2 separate regions of the Homo sapiens genome follow, and region 2 is linked to region 1. Evidence: promoter capture Hi-C in 16 types of primary human blood cells and fetal thymus (Javierre and others, 2016). All regions are on one chromosome and are shown on one strand. Each heading gives the region's core, a stretch centred on a gene start or on the middle of the fragment in contact. The rest is flanking DNA. Distances are from core to core; before and after follow the strand shown.

Region 1 (2,754 bases), core at 126-2,625:
TTTATTCAGAGCATACAGCTGAAACACGTAATTCTAACAAGGTGATTTCACAAACCAAGGAAGTCTAGAAAACAGAAGGCAAAGAAGCTGCTCTAGACAGGCACTTTAAAGAGCAACAGGTAGTAATGAACGATAAGTGAGAAAAAAAGATGCTCAAAAGTACATGGGAGAAAAGGAAAGGGAGAGGGCACAGAATTATACCTCCCACACCTTCCTAGTATGGAAAGTGCAAGACTACTGCACAGCATTAGTGATGTCACAGGCAGGTCCCCGAGTCACCAATACAACAGCACACCTACGTCTAGTATAAGCCATTTCAGAGGACAAGTTAAAGACAGAATTATAGAAACGTTTCATTCTCGAGACAAAAAGTTAATGTAATTCACTCATGTGCTTCCTTATGCTCCATTCATCCGATACAGTGCTACTAAAAGCCATTAAAGTCACCTGCAGAGATGTAACACAATGTTTGGATTTGGAGCCTTAAACATGTGTAACACGTGCCCCCTTGGTTCCCAAGTCAAGGAACAACTAATGAATTGCTGGAAAAGCGAGCTCTAAGCCCTGTAAACCACAACTGCAAGCTGTGTCTAACTGCATCGTAACCAGGCCTGGTGAGCTGCGGGGTGTAGTGGGTAGATCACTGAGGCCTGGGCTCAGAAAAACTGGGTTCAAACGACCTGCTCCAACTTAGGAAACACAACTCGCCGGGTGATTTAATGTTTGTTTTCGGCTCTTAAAGCGGGGCGGGGAAGAGGACCATCTGCCCACCTACCTCGGTCTTCTAAGAACTGAGCATTAAGGGAGAGACTTTACATGAGTCCCTCAAAGACGGTCCCGTCGAAAGCTAGCAGTCAGGACACAAGGCGGTAACGTCGGCCTGGGTTTAGGGACAGCGGCTACAGGAACCAATTCAACTACACCACTCAGCTGAAATGAAAGTTCTCCAACTTTCAATCACCAAAAATACACTTTACTTGCAGGACAACAGCTCAAGTGAGGCTAACCTGTAAAATGCATCCAAGTACCTGCCAAAAGAAAAGTACTTGAGGTTGACAAAAAAGGAGACAGACTTGTGGAGACGAGGCAAACTTTTCGGAGGCAGCACACCCCACAAGGCTCCGGGAGGTGCGCGACCCCGGCCCGCGCCTCCCCGGACACTTCCCAGCCCAGCGCGCCGCCGCGCCCCCGCCCAGCAACCGCTCCGGGCGCGCAAAGCCCAAGGACCGCCGCCCCGCCCTCTGAGGGGGACGGAGCGGGTCTTAGGATCGGGAGGGTGCGCGGACGCGGCGGGCGGGGGCCCGCTGACCTCAGGGCCTCCGGAACCTCACCTCTCCGCAGCAACACAACAGGGGGCCGCGGCCGGCTCCGCGCTGGGCTTCCGGCTCCCGCCTGGACTGTTAAACTTCGGCGGCCGGAAGTCCCGCCCCGAGTGACGTCACGGGGCGAGGCGCTGCGTGCGGCTGTGGCTTCTGGCCGGACAGAAGTCGGGGTACAGAGGGTCTGGTCAGGGCGGCGCTGGGCAGCCGCGGGGGAAGTTATCCCAGTGTCAGGGCGGGAACTGCGGGCCGGGGCGGCCCTCTCCACGCCCCAGCGACGGAGCTCCGGCCACTGCCAACTGCTTGTCATTCACTTGCTGTTTACTGTGTGCCAGGCACTGTGCTAGACTCTTGAGTGTACAGTGATGGTTTAGCCTGGGGATACAGGGGTACAGTGAATTCTCGTGGTCCTTGGCCTTGTGGAGCTTACAATGCACTATAGGAAGCTGACGTTATTAGATGCTTAAATGGAAAGTGAAACTATGATAATGAAAGGTATAAGATGCACGAAGACCCATAATAAGGGAAACTATTGTGGATGTGGATTTAGGAAAGGATTCCTACATGCGATTTACAAGCCAGGAAACGCGCTCAGGCTGAGAAATAACCCAAAGAGTAGGCGTCTGCACTAACCTACTTCAAAACCCATGATCTTTCTTTCGCATCATGCTGCGAGGTCCGGAACATCAAACATCATCTGTTTGGGAATTCTTTTGAAGGGGATACTTCAAGGTGGAAAAGGAAGTTGCTGAGCCGAGTTTTCAAGTGCCCCTTCCAAAGGTCCTTTTATAGCTCTACTGACAATTTTTGCTAAGAATATTTATCATAAATATAGAGCATTTCTTCTGCAAAAAGTGTTATTCTTTCATCACAACTACATGGGGTGTGTTTCTGAACTAGGTACATCAGCCCCAGTTATCTGCATTCATATTGCAGATAATTGGAAAATTCTAATAAGTGCATTTTTTCAGAGCAGAAATTGAAATCGTAGCCAAGTTACTGAGGTTCATGGGGGAGTGGCAAAAGGAGAAAGATAGCAAGCAGCAACTACCTTAATTGTACAGTCTGCAGTTCTTGAGGCTATGAAATCCAATTTGGGCAGGGAGGAGGCCCAGAAAGTTGGGAACTAAGAAAGTACGGTAAGGGAGTGGGGGCAGGGAGAATGGGAGCAAATGGAGAAAAGAAAACTTCAAACAAAAAGGGCAATTAATTAAATCTCTGAAAATTGAAGCCAGCAGGAAAATTGAGACTAGACTATATGAAAATATATATAATAATACATGTAATATAATATATACATATTATATGATATAATACTAGTTATACATATAAAAATAGATATTTATTGAACACTTTACTAAGCACTGTATTTGTGTATATAGACGTAATGTGTATGTATGCAATATATATATAATTTCATCTTTCTAAAAACACA
Region 2 (2,754 bases), core at 163-2,662, 330 kb after region 1:
CCTGCTCACAGATTTCTACTCTTCTACATTTATATGATATTATCTAGTCATTTTCTACTTAACGAGGAGGAATAAAAAGAAATAGTCTAAAAAGAAGAGAAAATAGCCACAGAAAATAGATAATTCAAAAAGTTTCCTCAAAAAAAAATTTCCAGATACACTAAACTAATAGCCTTCTACATTTAGGGAAAGCCTAGTAGAGATTCACTTGATTTTATTAATATTTACAGAATAATGCTGAGTAAAAAGTACAACCTAAAGTCCCAAAAGCCAAGTTAATCACAGGCATTTAGTGAAACGTCTCCATGCTTTACTATCAAATATTTATAATAATATGTTTTAAAGAAAAGAACTGTCCTGAAACTAGAAACTAACCACTCTCATGAAAATTAGATTGCACTTACAAAATAGAGGTACATTAACTTGCTGAAACTTAAAAGCTTAAACTTAAGTTATAAATTAAGGAGGTTTAATAAGTGAGAAAGCTTTGCTTTAGCCTCTTAACATTATGAGACAGAATGCACATAAACCATCATAAATAAACTACAGAACTGCAAATATAGTGTCAGTAAAGAAACACAGGTCATTACTTCATGACACTACTCATTATCCCAGCAGTATAGCTCTGACTTAGTTTTATTAACTTTCAATGAAAGTTCTACCAAATTAAGCCCAAGAGTCAAACCACTCCCTGGAGAAAAATTAGGCCTTGATGAAATATTCAGTTCCTCACAATAACTCCATCACTGCAAATTAGGGAATATATTAGATTCCAAAGATACCAAAACATCAGAAAACCATGAGCCAGTATGACACGCTAAACCAATACTAGACAAATCCTAGTAATTCTCTCAATTTAATTTTCTTTGAAAAATATGCTATATAAAATGCCACTAAGATCTTATCTTATATTACTAATCAACTATTAAGAGAAAATAGAATAGAAATATGACAAAATTTAGAAAAGCCATCAGCTCTACAGTCAAGAATAGGCTTAAAATTAGATACTTGAGACCTATGTCAATGAGTCACTCTTCCTAGCATCCTCTTCACTGATGACATGTTTTAAGTCAGGCAACAACTATTTCGACAAAAAACATTAATTCATGAGTATATCCCTAACTAAAAACAATACTATTTATTCAATGCCTACTGTGTGATAATATTTGACAGGCATAATTCCATTTAATACTCATAATACCTCTGGGAAGTAGCTACTACTGCTACTCTTGCTTCACAGATGAAAATTACTTGTCCACTATCACATGGCTGTGATAGTGTGAGAAGCTGGAATTTGAACTCAGGTCTCTCTGCCTCTACTGATCCAGAAGTTTTACTTTTATAAATTTACCCTAAGAAAGTAATCATGGATGTAGGTAAAGATTTATATACAAAGTTGGGCATCATAGCTTTGTTTATAATAGCAAAAGACTGGAAAGTATCTAGATGTTTAGCAATGGAGAATTACTAACAAACTATTATATATCCATAAGATTCAATGCCATGGAACCATTAAAAATTATGTTTTGGAAGAATACTTAATGGAATACAGCAATGTCAATTATATGTTAAGTGAAAATATCAGGATGTAAAATAATATGTATACTATGATTTAAATTATATATTGTACATAAATTCATATACACGTGTGTGTGCATGTATATATATATATATATTAATTAGATAGATAAATAGGCAGATAGATACACAAAAATAAAAGGATATCTCTGGATTAGGGTTTCTCAATCTTGACACCACTGACATTTTATGCTGGATAATTCTTTGCTATGCGGGCTATCCGGTACATTGTAGGATGTTTATCAGCCTCCCTGGCCTCTACTCACTAGATGCCAGTAGCACCCCTCTAGTTTGTGACAACTGAAAATTTCTCTAGACATTGACAAAATTGCCCCAGGGTAAGAACTCTGCTACTCTGGATGATAGGATAACAGATAACATTTATTTTCTTCTTTATGCATTTCAGTGTTTTCCAGCATTTCTAAAATTAATATATATGTGTTACATTTGTAATCCAGGGGAAAAAATGTTATTGTCAAAAAGCAAATTTACTAATAAGAGAAGGAATGATTCATATTTTATGAGACAAAACTGTAGTAATGGATAATATGTGTTATAGGAGCTTTAGAATATCTGCTGTGATTTTTATTTCCATCAGAAATTACTTCATAACTGCTTAATGGAAAAAAAAACACAGTGGAAAAAATTAGCAGAAATCTTTTCTACCTGTGTCAGGAACATCCGAGCAGTAATAGTAGAAAGAGGGGGATAAACCAGAATTGGTTTAGTTGTCTCCCCAATAGCACCACCGACAAGCTTTCCGTTGTTAGAATAGGCAGCAACTGCAAATACATACTTTTCATTGGTTTCTAAACCTTTCACTTCAAAAACACTTTTACCGTCAGCTGGTATCTATTAAGAAAAATATATTTCAAGTTATACATGAAAAATTAAAATAACATGACTTTTAAAATACAATTAAGTAAACCTTCTATTAAAAAAAAACCTTTTTCTTTCATTGTTGGATTTTAGTTATGATTCAGGTGGAAATTAGAGAGATTCACCAAAACAATGACTTCATTTAAAAATTTAATTATCATTAAAGGCTTCAGTAAGATTTCCTGATGTTTAATTTGACGTACCGCTTCTCCTGAATTTGGGAGATGATTATTGTTTAGCCGTACTTTTCCATAACTTCCTTCTGCTTTGCAACCCAAAATGCAGTACCAGGAGACC

What was found. The method cuts DNA at HindIII sites, captures the fragments that hold promoters and counts their contacts. A CHiCAGO score of 5 or more calls a contact.
Region 2: a fragment that was not itself captured here is called in contact with the fragment with the promoter of NEDD1 in region 1 in 2 of 17 cell types (endothelial precursors and total CD8 T cells); the score reaches 7.9 in endothelial precursors.

The regions. Positions count from the first base shown.
Region 1 is chr12:96,905,878-96,908,631 of GRCh38, reverse strand. NEDD1 (NEDD1 gamma-tubulin ring complex targeting factor) reads right to left here and starts at 1,375. Exons shown (of 16, transcript NM_152905.4): 1 at 1,332-1,375; 2 at 776-1,028. RefSeq lists enhancers at 553-692, 733-822 and a silencer at 1,063-1,342. The HindIII fragment of the contact is 8,934 bases long and covers 1-2,754 here.
Region 2 is chr12:96,580,596-96,583,349 of GRCh38, reverse strand. CFAP54 (cilia and flagella associated protein 54) reads right to left here. Exons shown (of 68, transcript NM_001306084.2): 21 at 2,661-2,753; 22 at 2,245-2,430. Among named protein-coding and RNA genes, the nearest start is that of CFAP54, 92 kb to the right of the region's middle. The HindIII fragment of the contact is 1,849 bases long and covers 488-2,336 here.